Regions from separate parts of the Homo sapiens genome. Here regions 1 and 2 are each linked to region 3. The links are contacts of gene promoters, found by promoter capture Hi-C in human tissues and cell types (Jung and others, 2019). All regions are on one chromosome and are shown on one strand. The core of a region is centred on a gene start or on the middle of the fragment in contact, and the rest is flanking DNA. Distances in the headings are between cores, read along the strand shown. Region 1 holds the start of EEF1A2 (eukaryotic translation elongation factor 1 alpha 2). Region 2 overlaps SRMS (src-related kinase lacking C-terminal regulatory tyrosine and N-terminal myristylation sites). Region 3 holds the start of NPBWR2 (neuropeptides B and W receptor 2).

What was found. The method cuts DNA at HindIII sites, captures the fragments that hold promoters and counts their contacts. A contact is called where the count stands out against the background at its distance.
Region 1: a contact is called between the fragment with the promoter of EEF1A2 here and the fragment with the promoter of NPBWR2 in region 3, in 4 of the 25 tissues and cell types used here (IMR-90 fibroblasts, aorta, lymphoblastoid cells and 1 more).
Region 2: a fragment that was not itself captured here is called in contact with the fragment with the promoter of NPBWR2 in region 3 in 1 of the 25 tissues and cell types used here (lymphoblastoid cells).

What each region holds. Positions count from the first base shown.
Region 1 is chr20:63,497,822-63,501,629 of GRCh38, reverse strand. It overlaps EEF1A2 (eukaryotic translation elongation factor 1 alpha 2), which reads left to right and starts at 2,547. Exons shown (of 8, transcript NM_001958.5): 1 at 2,547-2,572; 2 at 3,796-3,808. It overlaps LOC124904955 (a long non-coding RNA gene), which reads right to left and starts at 3,348. Exons shown (of 2, transcript XR_007067719.1): 1 at 3,007-3,348; 2 at 162-305. RefSeq lists enhancers at 1,913-2,482, 2,743-3,538. The HindIII fragment of the contact is 29,943 bases long and covers 1-3,808 here.
Region 2 is chr20:63,540,165-63,544,317 of GRCh38, reverse strand. It overlaps SRMS (src-related kinase lacking C-terminal regulatory tyrosine and N-terminal myristylation sites), which reads left to right. Exons shown (of 8, transcript NM_080823.4): 2 at 1-91; 3 at 838-1,004; 4 at 1,737-1,878; 5 at 1,997-2,155; 6 at 2,698-2,879; 7 at 2,971-3,127; 8 at 3,319-4,153. The coding sequence ends at 3,500. Among named protein-coding and RNA genes, the nearest start is that of PTK6, 4.9 kb to the right of the region's middle. RefSeq lists enhancers at 1-222, 1,170-1,319 and a silencer at 1,610-1,669. The HindIII fragment of the contact is 9,150 bases long and covers 1-4,153 here.
Region 3 is chr20:64,106,161-64,109,926 of GRCh38, reverse strand. NPBWR2 (neuropeptides B and W receptor 2) reads left to right here and starts at 2,362. Exons shown (of 2, transcript NM_005286.4): 1 at 2,362-2,563; 2 at 3,005-3,766. The coding sequence starts at 3,096. RefSeq lists a silencer at 147-330 and an enhancer at 2,314-2,814. The HindIII fragment of the contact is 24,186 bases long and covers 1-3,766 here.

The DNA.
Region 1 (3,808 bases), core at 1,298-3,797, 610 kb after region 3:
GTGACTAATTAGGATGCTTGGTACTTGAAGTCATTTGGTGCTACCCGGCCATTGACAAGTGTTTTGCCTGCTTGTTGTGCTATGACAGAATACCTGAGACTGGGTAATTATACATTACTTAAATTTAAACATTTATAAAGTTTGCTTTATAAATTTATAAATTATTATAAGTAAACAGAAGTTTATTTCTCAGTCTGGAGGCCAGGAAGTCCAGGATCAAGGTGCTGCCATCTGGTAGGGCCTTCTTGCTGTGTCCTCACATGGGAGAAGGCGGAAGAGCAAGAGAGAACCCACTGCCATGAGTCCTGTTTATAGGGCACAAATCCATTCGGAAGGGCAAACCCTTTATGACCCAGACTCCTTCCCGAAAGCGCCAGCCCCCAACACTGTTGCATTGGGGATTAAGTTACAACTCGTGCACTTTGGGGACGTGGTCAGGCCACTGCCGTTATTCAGCAGTTAGCATTCCGTAGTTAGTAGCCATTCAGTCCTGTTCAGTCTCCGCGGTGGCTCGGAACCATCAGTGTGTTAGTGTTTAGCCTTGTGACCGCAGCCCCGTTAGCTGTGTGTTCCAAGTGTCTGCGGAACTGAGTCGGTGGCTCCCAGGACCCCGAGGGGCCACACCGTGGACCAAACGTGTCCTGGCGCCTGGGAGACCCTTTGGAGCAGCCACCGACACCCTTGCCCAGAGTCAGCACACAGGTGCTTTGGGGAGGTTGCCACATTCCACTCTCAGGGGCCACTCCTGTGGGTGGCAAGGCCCCACGGCACATGTGAGCCCCTGGCACTGCTATGGGTGAGCCGGGAGCCGAGGGGGAAGGGGTGTCTGGAAAAGGTAGCCCAGAGTCCTGGTGATCCCTTGGGGGAGTGGGGTGGGCATCCCCGGGACCCCGGCCTGGGCCACTCGAGCACCTGCAGCAAGCCCACTTCCAAATCCCTGCCTAACCTTCAGGCTGCAGGGGAGGCGTTAAATATAGAGACCAGCTGGGTGGGGTGGGGCGGGCCTTGCTTTCTTGCCAGGCGGTTATTTTTATTCCTGGCTCCTGTTTGACGGCATCGGCAGCACTCGGAAGTGCCGGGGCACCTAGCAGGCCCTCCCTGCCTCCTCTCCTGCCTGTGGCCCAGGAGCCCAAGTCCCTGGACTCCTATGGGGCAGACGCAGCCACAGACCAGGGTCCTCCTGAGAGGCCCTCTCCACAGGCTGGGGAGAACTGTTTGGCCCCGACCCTGGGCCCCCACCTTTCCTTCCTCCTCACACCTGCCAGCAGGCCAGGTAGGGGTCCAGTCGCTGGGGATCCCCATGGATTTGCCCAGTCGCAGCTGCTGGGCCCGACCCGGGGCCTCCATGTCAACACCCAGTGGGAACTCAGGGCTGAGAGGACAGGTGCCAGGGCTCTGCCCCCACTCAGCACACACCTCCCGAGACCCCGCTGGCAGGAAGATCCGAGTGCGTGGGGGTGGGGGGGCAGCGTGGGAGGGAAGACCTGAATACCTGGGTGAGACGACAGGATCTTGGGGTCTGGAGAAAGCCCCTAACCTTGGTCTTCACACAACACATGGCTGCCACATCCCCTTCCTCACAACCCACGTTGGTCATTACCCGCGTGTGCCAGGACCTCAGGGACTCCCCACTTCCTACAGAGCGTGGCCCGGTCTTTGGCTTGGCATCCTGACCCCATATGAGCATCAGCTACAAGGCGCTGAGGTGCAGCGGGGTGGGGCGCTGGGCGGGGGGGCCTGGGTCTGTCTGGATCTGACTCGCCCTTGGCTGGCGCTGTTTCCCAGCAGCAGCCGGAGGTCGGCGCACCCGGAGGGGAGGGTCCCTGGAAGATGTCAGTGGGTCTGGGAGCGGGCTTCCGGCGTTCCCTGCACCGTGGGAGACCAGCCTCTCAGGGGGAGGGTGGTTCTGCGCTGGATCCTCGGGGCCTGTCATGGTGCGCCCAGGAGGGCAGGCACGTGAGGACAGGGACTGGAAACCAGCAGATTTCCACCCTGAGGCCTGCACCCCCGGGCCTCATTAGGGAGAGCCCCTCAGAGCCGGGCTTCGTTGGTTCTGGGGCGTCCCCCATGAGCAGGGCCGGGGAGGGGCCGGTAGACCCAGGCTCGTCTCCCAGGCTGCAGCCCACCTGCTCCCCTCCCCCGCCTGCCGGCTCCGGTCCTCGGCGTCTGCCCTGTCCCCGGGGACCGCTTTTCGCGGCTCAAGCGTGTTCCTGCCCTGAGCCGGCTCTCGCCCCGTCTCCCGGGCCCGCCGCGCTCTCCCCGCGCCGTCTCCGTCCCGGTCCCTCCCTCCCGCCGCCTCCCTGCCCTGCCCCCCGCCCCGCCCCCGCCCGCGGCGCGTTTCTCCCCCGCCTCCCGCGTCCGTCTTTGCAGCCCGCGCCTCCCGCATCGCCTCGCGTCCCCGTGGCGCCCGCCCGCGCGCGTCCGCGCCCCGCCCCCTCCCGCGCGGTTCCGCATTGGCGTGCTGCAGGGCGCGGTGCACTGCGCCGCCACCGTCAATAGGTGGACCCCCTCCCGGAGATAAAACCGCCGGCGCCGGCGCCGCCAGTCCCTCTGGCTGAGACCTCGGCTCCGGGTAAGGACGCTCGGCCCCCGGGCCTCCGCCCCCGCCCCCGTCTTCCGAAGAGGGACCCCCGGGGCCGGTCCTGGGGGGCAGAGGGTGGCCGGGCCCCGCACCCGCCCCCGCGCGCGCCCGGAGTCCGGCTTCCGGGGGTCCCCGCGTCGGCCGGGCTGGGCCCGGGGTGGGGGGCGGCGCGGGGCGGCGGGGCCGGGTCCTGGGCGGCGATCGCCCCGTAGCCGTGACCTTGGGGCCGCGGGGACCCTGCGGGCCGGGGGCTGATGGGGGTCGGGCTTCGGGGCGCTGGGCCAGAGGACGCTGAGGGAGGTGGTGAGATCTGGGGGCCCTGGCCTCCCCACCCCCACCCGTGTTCCCACCCCAGGGTGGCTTCTGTCCTCTTTCCCTCCCCCAGCCACCTGTCCGCGAGGAGCAGCGTGGGTTTCTCCACTGACCTCTGTGATGGGACAGGGCTGTGACCCAGGGTCCTGAGTCACAGGGAGGGGGGGAGGGAGGGTGCCCCCTATACCCCCACGGGGCCGAGGGCATCTCCACCTGGCACTTGCTGGGCTCGGCAGGGCCGGGTCCTCCTTCCTCAGGCTGGAACAGGGACCCCCACCTCCCGGCCGCTGTCTGTCCCTGTGAGAGTCCGGGAGGGGGGTGCCTAGAGCTATTCTGGGTTCCTAATCTGGGCAGCGCATCTCCGTCGGGGCTCTGGCCCAGCCTGCCGGGCAGGGATGAGGGGAAGATGGCGCCGTCCCTGCCTGAGGAGGGGAGTGGGGAGCAGTGGCCATCTCTCCCCGGTGGCAGCGGGTGGGGGTGGGGCGCCGTGTCCCTGGCCCTGCCGCCGGGGAGGGGAGTGCGCGTGCAGGACAGGGCCCTGGAGCGCTGGGCAGGTGACTCATCACCCGGCTCTGCTGGTCACGGACGTACCCAGCCTGGCGCTGCGTGGTCTCTCCAAATGGTGGCTAACCCCTTCCCAAGGAGCAGCCCGCGGGCTCCAACGCCCAGTTATTTACAGCAGATGGGGCTGTTTGGGCTCAAGTGTGGGGTGGGGGCAGTGCACAGCCTCTGCTTGCCCTGGCCAGGCCCAGCTGTGGGTGGGGGCCCTTCCCTCCCCACCAAACATGGGGGCTTGGTTTGTGGGCAGGGATGCCTGTCCAGCCTGTGCCAGGACAGTCTCTGCTGGTGTCTCCCCCTGGGGCTCCCCATCACCGGTCTCCCCACCACCACTGGCCCCACAGAATCACTGCAGCC
Region 2 (4,153 bases), core at 326-2,825, 560 kb after region 3:
GCACAGCAGCTGCTCCTCTCCCCACCCAACGAACCAGGGGCCTTCCTCATCCGGCCCAGCGAGAGCAGCCTCGGGGGCTACTCACTGTCAGGTACCTGGGGCGGCCCCTCCTGCCTCTGTCCCCCACCAGGTCAGTGGCCCTTGACCTTGGGGTGGTTGGTCTCTAGGCAGTGCTGGCTCCTGATTCACACCCGGCGCCACTGAGGGCCCAACAGCAGATATGCTGGTCACCTCCTGCACTTGCTAACTCACCCATTTATTCATTCATTCAGTCATTCACCCACTCATTCATTCAGTCACTCATTCACTTGTTCATTCATTCCTCACTAATTCACTCATTCATTCATTCATCCATTCATCTCATTCACTCGTTCATTCCTCACTCACTAATTCACTCATTCATTCATCCATTCATCCACTCATTCACTCGTTCATTCGTCACTCACTAATTCACTCATTTATTCACTGATTTGTTCACTAGCTTATTCTTTCACTCATTTGCTTATTCGTTCATTCATTCATTCACTTTTCCTTCTTTCCTTCCTTATTCCTTCATTCATTCACTGACTCATGGACTCATTCATTCTACAAGTATTTATTAAGTGCCTACTCTGTGCACACCGTCAGCAGAAAAGCTCCAACCTGGGCCGCTCTCGCTGCCCCGCCCCAGCCTGTGGCTGCCCACACTCCCTCCTCCACACAGCTCTGACCATCTCAGGGTCCCCAGCTAGGTCTGAGCCAGACCCCTTAGTGGGTTGTGGCCAGCATCCTCTGGGGTGGGAGGGTCGGGGCAGCTGGCAGCCAAGGCAGGGGTCTCCATCTCTGAACCCTTCCTAGTCCGGGCCCAGGCCAAGGTCTGCCACTACCGGGTCTCCATGGCAGCTGATGGCAGCCTCTACCTGCAGAAGGGACGGCTCTTTCCCGGCCTGGAGGAGCTGCTCACCTACTACAAGGCCAACTGGAAGCTGATCCAGAACCCCCTGCTGCAGCCCTGCATGCCCCAGGTGGGCCTGTGCCTGCCAAGCTGCCCCATGCTGGGCCCGAGGCATGGCCCTGTTCTAGGTGCTCCTCCCCACCCCGTCACAAAACCCCTGGGGCTGTCAGAGGCGCAGCTCCAGGGCCCTGCCCAGGCCTGGGAGCATCGGAGCATCCCAGCGGTTCCAGCACATTCTGCTCTCTGCGGGTGCCTCTGAGGGTTGTTGGGATTCCTGGGGTCCTAGGGGGCTGGGAGTGGGGAAAGGAGACCTGTAGCAGTGCCCAGCTCTGCAGGGGAGCAGCCAGGAGGGTGGGGCCAGTTTGGGGAAGGCACTCAAGGCTGCCCCAGGCCCCAAGGGCGGAAGGTGTGGGAGGAGAGGCAGATCACAAGATGCTGCACCTGGGCTGGAGACACTGGATCCCGGGGACTGTCCCCGATGTGAGCCACCCTGCCGAGGGCCAGGGCAGCAGTCTGGTTTCTCTGGTCTCATAATGACAGCGCGGCCAGGGGCAGTAATGAGCATGTGTAGACGGATATCCGGCTGGGGCAAAGGTGCCACTTAGGCCCCCAGAGCAATGAGCTCCCACGGGGCTGGGCCGGGCCTCCAAGCCTGGCACCCACTCCCCTTTGTCCCAGCCAGGGTGGGGTGAGTGTGTGCTGGGGACAGGGGTGCCCGCCAGAGGCCTGGTGTGGGGGGCTGTGCCTGGGACAGAGCACAGGGGCCCACGCTGACCAGCCTCCCTGCCCACCCTCCCTGCAGAAGGCCCCGAGGCAGGACGTGTGGGAGCGGCCACACTCCGAATTCGCCCTTGGGAGGAAGCTGGGTGAAGGCTACTTTGGGGAGGTGTGGGAAGGCCTGTGGCTGGGCTCCCTGCCCGTGGCGATCAAGGTCATCAAGTCAGGTGAGGCCCCGAGATCCTGCGCCACGGCCGGGCCCCGCACCTGCTGTCCAACCCTCAAGCCCCAGGGCAGTGATGTTCGTGGCGTGGGCCGGTCCTGGAGCCACACCCTCTCTCGCAGCCAACATGAAGCTCACTGACCTCGCCAAGGAGATCCAGACACTGAAGGGCCTGCGGCACGAGCGGCTCATCCGGCTGCACGCAGTGTGCTCGGGCGGGGAGCCTGTGTACATCGTCACGGAACTCATGCGCAAGGGGAACCTGCAGGCCTTCCTGGGCAGTGAGTCCCCTCCCTGCTGCCACGTGGCCCTGACGCGCCTGCGACCGCCCCTTCCCTCCTGGCGCAGAGCTGAACCTGCGGGGTTTCCGAGGTGAACCGGGCCTCTCTACCGGGAGCAGGTGGCCCCGGCTGCAGATCCCATCCCTGTCTGGTCTCCAGCCAACAGGGGGCTGGCGTCAGGTCTGGGCCAGGCCAGAGCCTTGTGGCTCCGGGGCTGGAGCTGGTGTTCGGGGGCGGTGGGGGGCGCGGTCCCATCTGGGTCACCAGCCTTGGTCTAATGTGACATAGACCCAGCCCAGCCTCTGGCTCTTCTCTGCCCTGGTCTTTGTCGGGGGCCTGGGCCGGCTGCCGGGTCACTGTGGTGAGTACAGGACCCTCGCCCTGTCTCACTTGGGGCTTCCCGTGGCCTTAGCCGGCCATGCCATCCTCGCCACGTCTTAGAGATGAGGAGGCTGAGGCATGGGGGAAGGTGACGTGGGTGGACGCTGGCCTCACCGGCCGTTGGCCCCGTGCCCTAAAAGACCCCGCGCTGTCTCCTGCAGCCCCCGAGGGCCGGGCCCTGCGTCTGCCGCCACTCCTGGGCTTTGCCTGCCAGGTGGCTGAGGGCATGAGCTACCTGGAGGAGCAGCGCGTTGTGCACCGGGACTTGGCCGCCCGGAACGTGCTCGTGGACGACGGCCTGGCCTGCAAGGTGGCTGACTTCGGCCTGGCCCGGCTGCTCAAGGTCAGCGGAGGCTCTGGGCCCCTGACCCAGAGGGGGTGGGTGAGGGGACCCCGGTCCACCTGCCCTACCAGGGGCCTTCCCTCGCCCCCAGGACGACATCTACTCCCCGAGCAGCAGCTCCAAGATCCCGGTCAAGTGGACAGCGCCTGAGGCGGCCAATTATCGTGTCTTCTCCCAGAAGTCAGACGTCTGGTCCTTCGGCGTCCTGCTGCACGAGGTTTTCACCTATGGCCAGTGTCCCTATGAAGGTGGGTCCCCAGGCAGCCAGAGGGAGGATGCAGGCTCTGCCCAGGAGTCACTGGCCCCGGGCCTGGACGCTGTCGGCAAGGGGTTGGAGGGTCTGGCCAAGGGCAGGCAGATGACATGGGGGGCTACAGGAGGCCTCCTCCATAGGGACCCCCAGGCAGAATCGAGGCAGCTCTTGCCCCGCGCCTCCCAGGGATGACCAACCACGAGACGCTGCAGCAGATCATGCGAGGGTACCGGCTGCCGCGCCCGGCTGCCTGCCCGGCGGAGGTCTACGTGCTCATGCTGGAGTGCTGGAGGAGCAGCCCCGAGGAACGGCCCTCCTTCGCCACGCTGCGGGAGAAGCTGCACGCCATCCACAGATGCCACCCCTGAGTCCTCACGTGACCCAACGCTCTGGGCTCCAGCCAGGCCAGCCCCTCCTCCCTGCAGAGCGCCAACTCGAAGGGATGCCGGTCTGCCGGACCGAGGAGCCTCTGGCTGTGGGCCTCAGGCCCTGGCGTGCACACATGTTCGTGCACCAGGCAGACGTGCAGACGGAGGGCTGGGGCTGACGTCCCCCGTGCAGTGTGACTCGTGCAGACGGAGGGCTGGGGCTGACGTCCCCCATGCAGTGTGACTCGTGCAGACGAAGGGCTGGGGCTGACGTTCCCCGTGCAGTGTGACTCGTGCAGACGGAGGGCTGGGGCTGACGTTCCCCGTGCAGTGTGACACGTGTCCCTGGCCTCTCAAGAGAGACAACGGCACAGGAGGGTGGGTAGAAGCCTCGGAGGCTCTGGGTGAGGAACCCTGAGCCCTGTGTGTCTCCTGCCTGGGTCCCCTGGACTCCCTCCCAGGGTGAAGAGCCAAAGGCCCAGTTCTCTCCCTAGTCCCAGCTTGGGTTTGTGGAAATGACCAGTGCTGACTCCCAGGCAGACCGTGGTGTTGACCCCACTGGATGTGTGGTATGTAGGCACGGGGTGGCACCGTCACCTGCCCCTCACAGACACACTGGCGGCCTGTGCACAAACCCACTCACGCACACAGCA
Region 3 (3,766 bases), core at 1,113-3,612:
TTCAGGACAGGCTCAGGAGAGCAGAGCTAGAGTCTGGGAGGGGCTCCGATTCCCAGACTCACCAGATACCGGTGGAGGGAAGAGGACCCAGACTCGTGGTTGGCTTCAGAGGAAGCCAGACACACAGTGGGATCTTTGCATGGGAAGATTCTGTGCTCTGAGGGATGCCTCTGACACTGGGCTCCCCACTACTGAGGCTTAAGGGAAGACCCTCCTGGAACACCCTGCTCTGAAGAAGGTGTGGGTGGCAGTCGGTATCCTGCAGGGCAAAGACCAGCAGGGGTGCCCAGAGCTCAGGCCACACGGGGGTCACTGGGCAGGCTGCCAGCCAGCCCTGGGGGGCAGAGGAAGGCACCGGCACTAGCCTGGGCCCCTCCCAAAATGCATGGAAGGGAGAGGCCCCCAGCAATGCCCCCAGGGAGGCCCAGAGTCAGGCAGTGTGGCCAGCCCCACCCCAGGACAGCAGCTCGGTGACAGCAGGCCCCCAGGGAGGCCCAGAATCAGGCCAGCGTGGCCAGCCCCACCCCAGGACAGCAGCTCGGTGACAGCAGGCCTGGGACATTCTCCCAGTGCCCGGTGCTGAGGCCATGGTCGGCCGCTCCCCAGCCAAGACCAGTGACCGCCTGGCCCAGCCCACACCCTGGTCAATGCCTGGGCCACCACATGCCAGGCCTGGCCTCTCTGTGTCACGCCTCTGGTTTCCAGGAGCTGTGAACTGACCCCTCCCGACCCCACGAACACCCCAAATCACAAAATTCAGCCCCAATGCACCCTCTCCTCACGGCTGCTAATCACCATCCCCTGACCTTGTGGGCGTCAAGCTCCACTTATGTGACAAACTGTGGCTACAAGCCCCACGCTCCCTCGAGACACACCCACAGATCCCCCCCACCGCCATCCCCAAACTGGCTGAAGAGGAGTGTGAGATATCTCAGCAGGGTTCCCTGACCCCGGACTCAACATCCACATGGCACAGCCCATAGAAGGGTAGCTCGGGGCCCACCCACAGTGTACCCTCAGGCTGGCGACATCAGGGTACTCAGGGCGACTGCCCAGGCTCCTGTCCTAACCAATAGACTTGACAGAGCAACTCTCAGGAAAGAAGGCCGACCATGAGTGTGCGGTGACATCCTTGCAACCCCACAGGCAGCGGGCACAGTCTCGATGGGCAGACACATCTCCCCAGACTGAAAACACACAGTGACCAGGCACGGTGGGTCATGGCTATAACCTGAGCACTTTGGGAGGCTGAGGTAGAGGCTGAAGCTCAGGAGATCGAGACCAGCCTGGGCAACATGGTGAAACCCCGTCTCTACAAAAAAAAACACAAAAATTAGCCAGGCATGGTGGCACATGCCTGTAGTCCCAGCTACTTGAGAGGCTGAGGTGGGAGGATCACCTGAGCCCAGGGAGGTCAGGGCTGCAGTGAGCCATGATAGTGCCACTGCACCCCAGCCTGGGTGACAGGGCAAGACCCTGTCTCAAAAAAGAAGAAAGGAAAGAAAACACAGACCCTCTGACCCAACACGTCTCCGCTGAGGAGCGGCTCTGAGACTGGCGACTGCTCGTGTCAGCTGTGGCGTTGCCTGCAAAGCAGGTCCAGATGCGGCCGAGCTGCACACACACGGGTTGGATAAGCCAGGGTGCGTCCAGCAAGGAAGAAAAGCAGGGAGAAGGGAAGGACTTAAAGACCAACCCAGAGCAGAGTGTGATGCTCACCACCTCTGCAGGACGGCGGGAGAGTTACGTGTCAGCGTGAGAACGTCTTCTCTGCAGCCTTTCACAGCTTGCCTAGGCTGAGTTCCTCTTTTAGCAAAAGACAAAAAAAGAAGGTGGGTTGCCTATGGCCAACAAGTTCTGCTTCCACATGAGGGCATACAGACCCCCCAGATGCCCACACTCAGCCAAGGACATGTAGACCCACTCAGATACAACGCAGAGCTCACCCACAGAGACCCCCATACAGGCAGACACAGGCCCACACACGTACATGTCCTAACTGGCACACACACACAGGAACACACCATGTACACACACAGGGTGGGGCAGGAGACCCACCAAGACACCCATGTTCACAGATAAGGGTGCCCAGGCCCACAGTGACTCCCGGACAGAGGCACAGATGCCTTCAGTGCCCTCTGCCCGAAGACCTGGGCACACCCAGAGGCCCCTGCATGGAGTCCCTTCCTGACACACAGGCGCACACGTGCCTCAGCCGCCCACTGAGGAGTCTGCCTGGGTAAGTGAATGCTGAGGAGACCCTGGGACAGCCGACTGCAGGCGCTACTGCAGCTCAGGGGAAGGTGGGGCCTGCCTTCCGGGCTCCACGTCAGCAAGGGGGATCCGCCTCCCTCCCTCACCAGCATCAGCACTGACACCAGGCTGGGAACCTCGCAGCCGGGGCTGAGGCAGCCAGCAGGGCAGGTCTTGAAACTCCTGAAACCTCAGCTGGAGGTCTGTCAGTGAGGACCACACCTCGCCCTCCATCCCTGCGACTGCCTGTACTGGCCAAAACCAGGAACACACCAAGGCTACCAACTTCTGGACTCGAAGCACTGGACAGGTCAGTGGAGAGAAGAGTAGCTGGACCAGCAGGGTCTGCAGCATCTCTCGGGAGGGTGTGAGGGAGGGTGCAGACTCCAAGACCCCTGAGGGAAGGACCTTCAGATTCAAGGGAGCCAGAGATGAGCTTGGGAGGTGTGTTTCCAAAGGGACCGCTTGATTCTACGCAGCCCGTGCATCTGCGGGTTGCTGGGGCAGGGACGGATCCACATCTCTTCCCAGGAGGGTGGCCAGCAGCTGCTCTCTGCGGGAGGAGGGAACTGATCTGCTGAAGTCTCACCAGGAAGAGGCGGGAGGAGGCCCCCACACACCCCACCAGGCTCCCTCTGGCCCCATGTCCTTGACCTGGCAAAGTGGCCGCAGTCTCTGCCAGAGAACCTGGAGTGGCTGTGCCCTAACAGACGGCCGGATCTCAAAGTCTCTGGTTGTTTTTCTTTCCTAGAATCCAGCCCAAGGAGGCCCCCAACCAGATACCCAACTCCAAGGCACCTCCCACCTGCCCAGGGCGCAAATCGTCAACGGTCCCAGCTACAATGCAGGCCGCTGGGCACCCAGAGCCCCTTGACAGCAGGGGCTCCTTCTCCCTCCCCACGATGGGTGCCAACGTCTCTCAGGACAATGGCACTGGCCACAATGCCACCTTCTCCGAGCCACTGCCGTTCCTCTATGTGCTCCTGCCCGCCGTGTACTCCGGGATCTGTGCTGTGGGGCTGACTGGCAACACGGCCGTCATCCTTGTAATCCTAAGGGCGCCCAAGATGAAGACGGTGACCAACGTGTTCATCCTGAACCTGGCCGTCGCCGACGGGCTCTTCACGCTGGTACTGCCCGTCAACATCGCGGAGCACCTGCTGCAGTACTGGCCCTTCGGGGAGCTGCTCTGCAAGCTGGTGCTGGCCGTCGACCACTACAACATCTTCTCCAGCATCTACTTCCTAGCCGTGATGAGCGTGGACCGATACCTGGTGGTGCTGGCCACCGTGAGGTCCCGCCACATGCCCTGGCGCACCTACCGGGGGGCGAAGGTCGCCAGCCTGTGTGTCTGGCTGGGCGTCACGGTCCTGGTTCTGCCCTTCTTCTCTTTCGCTGGCGTCTACAGCAACGAGCTGCAGGTCCCAAGCTGTGGGCTGAGCTTCCCGTGGCCCGAGCAGGTCTGGTTCAAGGCCAGCCGTGTCTACACGTTGGTCCTGGGCTTCGTGCTGCC